Linked DNA regions of Homo sapiens: region 2 is linked to region 1. Evidence: promoter capture Hi-C in 16 types of primary human blood cells and fetal thymus (Javierre and others, 2016). All regions are on one chromosome and are shown on one strand. Each heading gives the region's core, a stretch centred on a gene start or on the middle of the fragment in contact. The rest is flanking DNA. Distances are from core to core; before and after follow the strand shown.

Evidence for each region. Contacts are between HindIII fragments. The CHiCAGO score rates a contact against its expected background, and 5 or more counts as called.
Region 2: a fragment that was not itself captured here is called in contact with the fragment with the promoter of MTSS2 in region 1 in 2 of 17 cell types (total CD4 T cells and neutrophils); the score reaches 6.0 in total CD4 T cells.

What each region holds. Positions count from the first base shown.
Region 1 is chr16:70,683,271-70,688,936 of GRCh38, forward strand. It overlaps MTSS2 (MTSS I-BAR domain containing 2), which reads right to left and starts at 2,783. Exons shown (of 15, transcript NM_138383.3): 1 at 2,453-2,783. The coding sequence starts at 2,521. VAC14 (VAC14 component of PIKFYVE complex) reads right to left here. Exons shown (of 19, transcript NM_018052.5): 19 at 4,169-4,820. The coding sequence ends at 4,658. RefSeq lists an enhancer at 4,311-4,817. The HindIII fragment of the contact is 19,223 bases long and covers 1-5,666 here.
Region 2 is chr16:70,157,595-70,163,260 of GRCh38, forward strand. It overlaps PDPR (pyruvate dehydrogenase phosphatase regulatory subunit), which reads left to right. Exons shown (of 19, transcript NM_017990.5): 19 at 1-4,943. LOC400541 (a long non-coding RNA gene) reads right to left here. Exons shown (of 3, transcript NR_126007.1): 2 at 1,211-1,295. Among named protein-coding and RNA genes, the nearest start is that of CLEC18C, 13 kb to the right of the region's middle. The HindIII fragment of the contact is 1,139 bases long and covers 1,508-2,646 here.

The sequences.
Region 1 (5,666 bases), core at 1,533-4,032:
TGTAAAATCAGGAGAGGAGGAGCACCTGCCCCACTGGGTCAGTGTGGAAATTGAAGCAGGTGCTGCTCAGCCAGCACTCCTCGCAGCGCCCAGCACGCAGTAAGTGCTCAGTTAACACCAGCTAACAGTACGCAAGCCCTGCCCTCTGCAGGGGCCCCTAGCAGAGGCCTGGCCAGGCCTATGTGTCCAGGTGACATTCCCCACTCTTGAGGGGTGGGTGAAGAGTATGACCCCATTTTCTGGCTGGGCCAGCACTGGGTGGAGGCCCCATTCACCTTGCTGAAGGTGCCGTGCCCAGAACTATGACCTTTGGCAAGTCTCTGCCCCTCTCTGGGTTTCAATGGGCAGCCTGACACCAGTGGGCATCTGACCTTGGCCCCCGCTCAGCCCAAGGTCAGGGCCTCCCAGAGGCCCAGGGGAGGGCTTCTGTGGGGCCTGTGGACTCACTGTGGGGTGGCCTCACGGGGCAAGCTCAGTCTCCTCAACCTGGCTGCTGATGGCCGCCCTTCCTCTACGGAGGCCCTGCTGCTCAGGCCACCGAGGGGAAAATCCAGAAGCTGCCCCCGCAAATCCAGGTGGTCAGCTTCCAGGTGGCCTCATCCCCTTCTCTGCCCCTGGTCATGGCCCCTGAACACATGCCTGTGTCATAGGTAGGGGCGAATCTGTCCTTGGCATCATCCCAGGTGAAGCCTCTCCTGTTTTGCCTCCACATGTCAGCAAATCATGCCCGATGTCTGGCTTGAACCTCTTGCTATGATCTGGGCCCACTTCCTTCTGTCTCATCCCAAAGTTCCTTGCAAATTGGCTGGAGAGGGAGAGAGACTGTCCTAGTCCACTTCCACGAGCAAAATCTGCTGCTCTCTGCAGTGGTTGCTATGAGGCTGCCAGTGGTGGTGGGTGGTGGGGTGCGGGAAGGCCCATCCGGAGCCAGCTCTGGGATCGGCCAGGGGAGGGTGGTCTGTGTTGCCCAGTCCCTTAACAGGATCCTGGGGCCAGGGCTGTGATGTCCACAGGACAGGTGGGGACTGCTGGGGGCCAGCGGAGGGGCCCAGATGTACAGTTGCAAGAGATGGGGGTCCCAGGGGGAGTGCACCATGAGGGGCAGGGGGTGGGGGGCATCTACAAGCCGCTAACTGGGTAGTCCCAGGCCAGGCTGGCTTCAGGCCTCTTCCGGGGGCAGAGATCTGGCAGCTGTCCCTGGGGCTGTTGTCCTGGCAGCACCGGGAGCCTCGAACTCCAACCTGCCAGCAACCCCCACCCCTCACGGGGCCTGTCCTAGCAGCACTGTACTGGGTGGTGTCACCCCCATCCCTGGCCTGGTGGGATTCTGTGTTGTGCACTTGGAGAATCTGCGCTGGGCTGTGGGGGTGGGGGCCCTTGGGAGATCCTGTGGGGTGCCTCGTTCTTTCCCCTTCTCCCAGCCCCCAAATCCTGCCCCTTCATCCTAGGCTAAGGAAAGGGGGCACGGCAGGAGGGCAGGAATACTGGTTCCTGGCCCCCACCCTATCACTGGAGCTGGGCCCTCTCTGCCTAGTCAGCGTAGGGCAGCCCTGCCAAACCCTGGCCTCATTTGGGGAGAGGAACCCACTAATTTTCCCAGGAGGAAAAATGGGGGCTGAGGTCAGGGGAAGGGTCCAATAGTCTCCTTAGTGACCTTGAGCCATTTCCAGGCCTCAGTTTCCCCACCTGGTGGGGTGAGGAATGAATGGGTGGTTGGATCCAGCCTGACCTTAAGCAATCCTGGGAGACAAGGAGGGCTCGGAGCTGAGAGCCCAGGGTGGTAATGGGGTAGGAAAAGCGCTTCCTTGGGGTTGCTCCACCGACCCCAACCTTCATCCCGCCTCCTCCCAAGGTGATGATCAAGGCCTATCCTTGGGATGCAGGGACATTCAGCCTGGAGACCTTGGAGTCCTGGAGCTTCCTGGGGCTGTGGGGGTGGGGCGGGGCTGGGGGACGCAGTCTCACGGTCGGGTGCAGAGGCCTAGGTCGGCGGGGAAGGAGTTAACGGTTCTCCGCTTTATTATTTTTTCCTGCTTTGGCGGTGACAGCATTGTCTGGGCTCCGGGGCCGTGGGGGAACATGGTGGTGGAAGGGGGCGGAGGCCGGTAAGACCCCGGACTCGTTAAAGGGCCCTAGAGTCGGTCCTGGATCCAAACCCCATTCATGGTTTGGCGGTCTGGGGCGCAGGGAGCCTGCGTGTGCACAGGCTCGGGTCAGGACCCCACGGGGCCACCGCGGGCACCGCACGGACACCCCGACACACGAGCACCCACACCCCCAGACGGGCACCCGGAGACACGGGCGCCCAGCAGACGCAGGCAGGACGCGCTCAGACAAGGACACACAGACACCGCGGCGCGCGGCCACACGAGGCTCGGCCACCCGCCGCCACGCGTCCCCGGGGGGTCCCGCACCCGTCGCCGCGCGCCCGGCCCCGCCGCGCCCCGGTTACCTTCATGTCGTTGACTATGGCCTGGAAGAGCCCGCCCAGGGCGCCGCACTCCTTCTCCGCCGTCTCCATGCTCTGGCTGGGCCGGGCCGCGGCGGCGGCTAGGCGCACGGAGCGCGGGGAGCAGCGCAAGGGAGGGGGCCAGGCCGCGCGGGCGCTCGCTCCGAGGCCGGGCCGGGCCTCCCGCCTCCAGGCTGCGCTCAGCGGCCGGCCGCGCCGCGCTCCGGGGTCGCGGGCCTCCGGCGGGCGGCGCGGGCCATGTCGCAGCGGGGCTGGCGGGCGGCGCGGGGGGCGCGGCGCGGGCAGCTCGCGGCGCAGCCTCGGCGCGGGGACTGACGGCGGCGGTAATCCGAGCCGCCGAGGATCGGGCGTCACGTGGGCGCGGCGGAGGGGGGACCGCGAGGAGGGAGGGAAGGAGGGCGGGCCGCGCGGGAGGGGGCTGTGGGAACGGCCGCGCGGGCGCAGGCCCATTCACGGCCAGAAACCAGGGCTTTGAAATCCGAGCCCGGGCGCTGCCAGACTGGTCCGGCGAGCGGGGCCGACGGGCGCGGGCGCCACCGAGGGTCGGGGGGCGGCGCTGGGCGGGGCCCGCCCTGCCCACGCAGGAGCGGGACTGGCGGTTGGGCCTCGGCCCCCGGGCAGGGGCTCCACGATATCTTCTGGCCTTTGGTCTGGGGCGGGGGGCTTCTCGCGCTTCTAAAGACAGGCAGTGGGTACAGTGGCGGGATGGGGTCGGTGCATGGGCTGGATGGGTGGCATACACCGCACACAGCAGGGCGCGGGGTATCGTGGAGCCGCCCGCCTTGGGACGTTTCATCGCAGGCACAGACCTTCCTCAAGTTCGGACCCTTCCAAGTTCCTTGGCTCCTTCTCCAAGTGGTGCCGATGCCACCCGGATGGGGTGCCCAAGGCTGGGCATTTGGGGGGCAGTGGTAGTCTCCTGGGCCTTGAACAACCTCCTTCTTCGCGGGTGGGGGCTAATGTCGGACCTGCAGAGCAGAGCTGGAGTGTCCTTGGTCTCTGCTGCCTGAGTCCACGGTGGGTGCGATGCACACACGTGCATGGGGTAGCAATGTCAATCGCAGCCTGTCCTGGAGACTCCAGGCAGGGAAACCCACCCTGGGGGGCAGCACGATGGGGGAGCGCACTCTGGGGAAGAGCAGGCACAAGCTCCTTCTCGCCTACTCCATGGGCCGGAGGGAGCCAATTACAAGCTCATTAGGAGACCAAGCCCAGGGTTCCCAAAGCCTGGGGACAGGTGGTACCACTCCCGGTGAGGAAGGGCTTTCAGCTGCAGCAGTGGTTGGGGCACCTGCCCCTCCCTGGACTGCTCTGGGCTTTTCCTCCCCTTGCCCCGAGATCTGCAAAGTGTTCTGCAGTGTGCATTGCCCTTTCATCCAGGAACTCCTGGGGCTCAGCTCCCATGTCCCCAGTGGGGAACTCCCATTGCCCCAGGGAGTCAGGATGAGAAAGGCAGATTGGGGAAGGCAGGGTTCAGGATTCCAGGGCAGGCAGTGCATGGTGCTCTCCAGGAGGGTGCAGGTTCCAGAGGTGGGGACCTAGGCTCTAGGCCCATGGCTCCACTCAGGTGAGTGCAGGGACCAGGCCCTGGGGCAGCCAGTACTCCTTGGGGCCATCATGAAACCCGATCTCCAGGACAGAGGGTGAGGCCCCCGGACAGCTGCACGTGTCAGCTGGGAAGGAGCAGGCCGGCTCGGGTTGAGGGTTTTCTGTTATTTCTTTATTGGGGTGGGGGTGGGGTGCATCATTCAGATCTTTGTGCTGGTGCCTACGTGCATACAAGTACACACACACACACACACACACAGGCATGTGTTCACGTATGTATACATATACACACAAGGCCAGAGCTCTAGTGTGCTGGAGGAGGGGCAAGCTCTTTTTCCAAGAGGGTATTAGAAAGAGGTTGATTCCAGAGGATGAGTGGTCTCTGAGGCTATAGCCCCCCACTGGGTGGGCAGCCAGCTCTGTGAGAATGCCAGGGTGCAGCTGACAGCGCTGGAGGCCTGGGGACTGGACTCTGAGAGGAGCTTGGGCAGACACAGCAGCCTCCGGCCCCAACACTGCCCTGGGTTGGCAGGCCCAGCCCTGGTCCTGACAGGCAGGTCCTTGAGCTCCTCGGGAGGGCGTGACGACCCTTAGTGTTTCATGGGACCACTCGGTGGGCCCTCCTCCGTGCCAGGCCTGTCAGAGGACAACCCTCCGGTCCAGGTGGTCCCCACGCCCGCTCCGCTGGTGCCGCACTTCCAGGTGCTTGTTCTGGACCTTCTCAAAGTGCTGCAGCAGCTCTGCGTAGTCGATGCTAGGGGAGTCAGCTTTCTGGGACTTGGGGGCTGCCTTTAGACTGTCTCTGGGAAGAGGGAGCAGAAATGCTCAGTGTCAGGGATCAGCTCACAGGGGGGTTACTGCTGGAGGGCAGTGGGGTCAGAGGCAGAGCCACAGGCTGGTGGGCTCGGCCTGTGGGCGTCTGTCTCAGGCCTGGCAACTCTTCCGTCATGGCGGGCCCCAGAGCTGGGAAGCCCCTGAGCATCCCCCTCTTCCGCAGTTGGTGGGAACAGCTAACACTGCTGCTTGGCTATTGCCCTCGGCCTGTGGGCTGGCGATGGCGCCCAGAGCAGGCATCGCATTGGGAAGCATTTCCTGTTTACGAGTGGCTCCCTTTGGGGTGAAAGCCAGGGCTAGCAGCCAGCCAGGAAGCCAGCTGGGGCCTGGAACAGGGTCTGGGGAGAAGGGGGAGGTGGCAGCTTGGCCCTTTCTCTGAGAGGCAGGGCTAGGACTGGGGAAAATGGGAATTGCTGAAGAGCCTCTGCCGGGCCCTCCACTTGGCAGGACATTTGTTTTTGAGTGTTGGGGCCCCAAGGCCTGCAGTCACTCACTGTCCCTGGGAGGAGGAATGCCGGTCTCACCACTGGACATGCCTACAGCTCCTACATTCCTGTTGCTGCCACCCTCTCCAGTTGCTCTGTACAGCAACACAGGTTGTGCACTGCACAGCTAGTGTGCATGATGCTCCCTATAATGGTGCAATGCGGTAGCCTTGCTGTCCCTGTCAAGCCCAGTGCTTAGCTTGCCCCTGGCGATGAGATCCCCTTGGGCTCCTGTCCTGTTCCTACTCACCCTCCAGCAGTGTCTCATGAAATGTTCTGCTCCCTCCCTTTGGCCTCACTGGTTTGGAGGAGCAGATCCATGTGGGCTA
Region 2 (5,666 bases), core at 827-3,326, 530 kb before region 1:
ATAAGGTTGCTTTTTCTTTCTTAGTTGAGTAAACAAGTAAGCCACAGTGTTTGAAAGGGAAAAACCATATTGCCTTGTGTGTTGCTTTTCCCAGTCAAAAGGGTCTGACCTTAGAAAGTCCCCACCAGTGATGCTGAGTGTTCTGCTATGGAAACAATGCTGCTTTTCTCTCAGCTGTCCAAAGTTCAGCCGTTCCTCCTTCCCCTTCTCCCAGTGCGTTTGACTTTGTCAGGTCAGCCTCACTTGTCCCTTTCACAGTTGGCCCATAAAGTCATGTTTCTCTCCCTTTAGAATAGGGAGGGGAAGGGATCAGGTGTGTTGTCCTGGGCCTTTCAACCTTGCGGGCTGTGCTGAGTTCCAGAGAGCTGCCGGAATTCCAGGTTTGACTCTCCAGCACAGAGCAGAGCTACACAGAGGTGACCCACGTTAGTCCACTGAGAGTTCTGAGTCCAAAGGGTGTACGTTGCATAAGGCTAGAGACCGCTTTTCCTCCTTTCCCCCCAGGCTCTTTGTTTCCCTCCACCCACCCTTCCATATCCTCTGGAGCAGGAGACAATGTGGGTGCCCAGAAGTGCCCTGCGCTTTCAGGCAGTGTCTCTGTTTTCCCAAGGTGAAACTTAGATATCATGGACTGTTGTCCAGCCTCAATGCTTCATTTTCCCCTTGCATATCAACTGCCCTAATCTGACTTTTTTTAAGTGCAAATAAACTGCTATAAGACATTTTGGTTAGTAAAACTCTAGCCTTTGGCGTGTTGGTATCTTGGAAGCATTAGCTCTGATAGGTCTATAAGTGTATTAAGGGACATCCTTCCATTTCATTAGAGCAGCTTAAAATGCTCAGGTGTCTGCCTTCTCTGGTGTTTCTTTGGGATCTCTGTTTACCCACTTACGCTGGCTCCTTCTAGACATTTCTTGCCACTTCCCCAACTAGACCACTCCTAGTGATTACTGACTTTAGTGCCTAAACCTTTTTGGAAGGTTCTGGTTGGCTTGTTAGAGGAGCATATGATTAGAATTCTGTTTGGGGGTCTAGTTGTCTTGGAGCAAGTATGTACTTAACTAGCCGAGAGATGCTGCCTCTAGGCAGAGAGGAGGAGAGGTGTTGCCGGCTGGAGGGCCAACCAGTGAACACCAGCTGTGAAGGCCTTGGGAGAGGAGGAACAGGCCCTTGGGCAGATGCAGGCATTACCAGCAGGGAGCAGACTTACCTCCGAAGATGGAGACAGGTGACTGAGAGCTGCAGGCCTCCTCTGCTCTTCCAAACACGTAGCATTTGCACCCCTCCAAAGCCATCTTTGTAAAGGAAAACGTATTTGTAATTGAATCCAGAAGAATTTAGTTACACATAGACATAACTCTTCAACCTTAACTATGGCAATACATTTGTGCTTTAACTGTTACATAGCAGTATCACCACTTACCAGGATCCAAATCGAAATAATAAAAGCTGTCTCCATAGTTTAAAATCGAATAGTGCCATCATCACAGTATATTAGTCAAATAGAAGCTTCATCAGAAATGTATCCCACATAGAGTTTTAAGACTTGGATTCTCTTCTGCCCTTGTTAATCTCCAACTAATTACTACAGATTGACACGTTTTTAATTAGCTGTCCTTTGTAAGAAGTCAGGAAATCTGATGCTGTGTCCAAAATTATGCACTGTTTGTTGAAGTAGAACCAGAAATCCTGACCTCCTGTTAAATGACATCAGTTTCCCCCTCTGAGCAACAGACTGCTTGTCTTGCTAGGAGAGGAGGATGGGGGGCTGAGCACTCAGGCTGTCCATTGAAACCCCTTGTCCATGAATAGGGTCATACTCCTAAGACTGATGGGGTGTTGATCTTCTAGGACATCACTTGTTTATTCAGTGCCCCAAACACAGATTTCTCTTCTAGCACTTTAGAGTTGATCCTTGAAGTCTCTCCTGGTTCATTCAAATACAAGCTGTGTGAGTCTGGTGGTTTTCTGTGATTGGTCTAATGTGAGCTCTTTGAACAGACAGATCTGACAGTGAATGACTCTCCCCTGCTTCTGGCATAACTGCTTTGCCTCTGTCTAGTGTCCAAGCATCTTAGCTGTTCAAGAGGAGAGGGCAGCATAACTTCCTGACCACCGGTGTCAGATATCAGAGCATTCTGGACTCCTGAGAGGCAGTGGCCTCTTGAGTGAACAGGGGAGGCCAGTAGATGCCCCAGATCCAGAGCCGTGGCTGCAAATCCAGCAGGAATAAGGAGGGACAACCACAGCCTCCTCATCCATGTGTCATTTCCAAGGGTTTGCCTTGTGTCTCAGCTCATTCTGGGCAGCACGTTTGTCTTCTGTCCCTAGAGATTTGAAGGATTTTGGACTCTTGTGAATGGGTGACTGGACTTGGCTTTACAGAGTTGGGTGCTTTTTTCTCTCTGCAATTACCTGTCATAGCATTTTGTGCTCACCACGAAGGATGGTCTCTGCCTTCTCTTGTCGGTGTATGCCATCTGAACCTAGGAACACAAAGTATATTGGCCTCAAACGGAGACCCAGGGTTGCCAGTTTTCCGTGGGCCTTCCCCTCCCTTGAAATGTCTTTAATTACCTCCCCTTCATCGTCAGGCCACGTGTGACTTCTGTTCTTAGCACTGCCAGGGTCATTGACTTCCATCTAAGCTTGCATCAGGAAGATGTTCCTTCTGTGATCATTGGTACTGAAGCCAGAAAAGCTCTCATTCAGGAACTCTGAAGAGCAAAAAGGGACAAACACTAACTGCTGAGCTGGGCCATTTGATCTCCTTTCACCTTGCATTGCTGTCACAGCACCTTGTATGATGGCAGGACAGGCTCCAGCAGAGAGAACTGCACAGTGACCACTGTATTTTTCACGCTCTTCCAGGGATCCCTGTCCCCCGACATTGAAGAGATCTCATTCAGGCCAGAGACACAGAGACCACATAGCCCAGTGATTAAACCCCGGTTTCACTCTGGCCCCAGGAGTGGAGCCTGGCCACTCCTGTTTGGTTCTCACTGGGAGGCCCACTGGCCTTGGATCATCTCCTCATGCACACCCGGAGTTTTACCTGCTTGCTTGCTTTCCTGGACTGCTGTTTGCAAGAAAGTAACTAAAACATGAAAAGTAAACCTCCAGCTTCCACAGTATATTACCTGCCGTTGCATGCATTTGAAAGTTAGCCTCCTCCCTTGCCACCGTCTTGGTGGCAGTAGCGATGCAAGAATGATGGGAGCTTTCCGAGAGCGTTCAGTGTTTCACTGAAGACAGGACCCATAGCCTTCATTTCTGGCTCTGTGTCTCCTCTGGCATATGGACACATTTCCTGGCATTTGCCTGAGTCTACACCACTTTTTGAGAACCTGAAATAGAAGGGAATCTTCTGTGGCCCACAGTCTCCATATTGGCACTAGAAGACTGGCCTGGCGGAGGAATTTGCGTTGGCTTGCTTTCAGGGGTTAGCTACAAGATTCAGCTTTATATCTCTGTTGCTTCTTGGCCAGTGTAGTCAATAAGGGTCTTCTTTAACATCTAAGATAGAGGTTTGGTTGGCCGGGCGTGGTCGCTTACTCCTGTAATCCCAGCACTTTGGGAGGCCCAGTGAGGTGGGAGAATTGCTTGAACCCAGGAGGCAGAGGTTGCAGTGAGCTGAGATTGCACCACTGCACTCCAGCCTGGGTAACAGAGTGAGACTCTTGTCTCAAAAAAAAAAAAAAAAAAATCTAAGATAGAGGTTTGGTCAACAGTGCTTAATAATAAATAAGAACCTCCTGCCATTCTAATTTTCCTGCTGCACCCCATCCCCCACACACCCCTCACGAACATTGATATAAGCAGTATTAACACAGTATAAAGAATGTTCACCTTGCATATGTCATTTCAGGCACATGGATTCAGGAGAAGCACAGTTGAGTGGAAGAAATGGTAGACTTGTGAGGCTTGCCCCAGGCCTTGTGTACACGCAATAAGTGGTGAGCCATGGGTCTCTCCGTCAGCGCCTCCCTCCCCGCCACCACTTCAGGCCAACAATTTAAGGTGCTGAGTTGTAAGGCTCCTCCATTGTCAGTACAGGGCTCGCCTTTGTAGCCCTGATCACTACCAGTACACTTTTCAAGACAACTGAGTATTTTTGTATGCCTTTGCCTTCCCTTTGTCCATGAAACATGAAGAGTTGTTTATGGTTCTTGACTTCTCTGAGCAGAGTGTCTGCATCTCTTGGAGAGTTACACATTTCTTCATGAGCCATTTTTCTCATTCTTAGATGCACCTGTTTTTATCCTTTGCAGACCATCTTCTGCCTTCTTATTTTCCTGTCTGTCAAAGACAGAAATTACAGGAGATAGGGAGGGTTTTTTAGCATCTCTTTCAAAAGATGTATGTCAGAATTTCCTTTGCACACCAAGAACTGGAGCTTAGAGCCCCACTATTCTCTAAGCCAGGTTCTAGTGCCTTACACTCCAGAATGTCAGATGGTGGGTGCAGATTGGAAGAAAGAGAAAAGTTCATCTCGGTGTGTGGGTTCCCATCCGCCCCACATAGCCTCTCCTTCTTCGGAACAATGGGCGTGGGGTAGAAAGCTCTTTCAGTGAAGGGTGTTCTAGCAGCTCAGTTAACACTTTACTCTCCAGTCAACACTTGGGACATATAAAAATGCCATTGTAACTACTGTAGAGTCCTGTGACTCATCGTTTGTGTTTGTCAATTTGCAGTTCAGCTTAGCCCTTCCCTGTTCCTGTGTAGTTACAATCTGGCCCTGAAGACATCCGAGGCACTTCAGTAAGTGGGATCTTTTCTAGAGATCCTGGGTGACTTTGGGTGCACAGGGTGACCGAGCATTTCTGCCCCTGTGAATGTGGCACTAACACTGTGCACTGTCTCCACCAAGCAAGGTTTCCACTGAGTTTCTTCTCATGTTACTGGGTTTGTAAATGAATAAACACATTTTAACTACTCTTGCACGGCTGCTTGTGAAATGTTCTTCATCTGTAGTGACTTAAATGTGTTTGCCACCACAAAGCATAAACAGCGTGCAGAGGAGAGTGTGTACCTCCCTGTGTGTACCAGTGTGAGGGAGGATTTGGGGACGGGGGTAGAGAAGATGTAGGTGTTTATCTTACCCTCCCTGCAGCGCTGGAGTGGCTGGGGGTAAAAGCTTCCCGCCTCCTGAAATTCCGACCGGCCTTCTGCCTACAGCTGACCTCAGGAGGAACCTGCCACCTGATGTTCCACACGGGCACGTGTGCACTCAGGTTTGTGTGGAAAGCAAGGGGGGTCGTGTTCTCACCCTGTGGAAACAACCCTGAGAGAAACAACCAGTGCTCTTTTTCTACACCAGCTTCCATCCACAAGTTGGTCCCTGGACTTGACCTGTTCACTAATTTTTTTTTTTGAGGCAGAGTCTTGCTCTTTTGCCCAGGCTGGAGTACAGTGGTGTGATCTTGGCTTACTGCAACCTCCACTCCCAGGTTCAAGTGATTTCCTGCCTTAGCCTCCAGAGTAGCTGGGATTACAGGCACGCGCCACCATGCCCAGCTAATTTTTGTATTTTCGTAGAGACGGGGTTTCGCCAGGTTGGCCAGGCTGGTCTCAAACCCCCAACCTCAAGTGATCCACCCACCTTGGCCTCCCAAAGTGCTGGGATTACAGGCGTGAGCCACTGTGCCTGGCCCAAAGTAATTTTT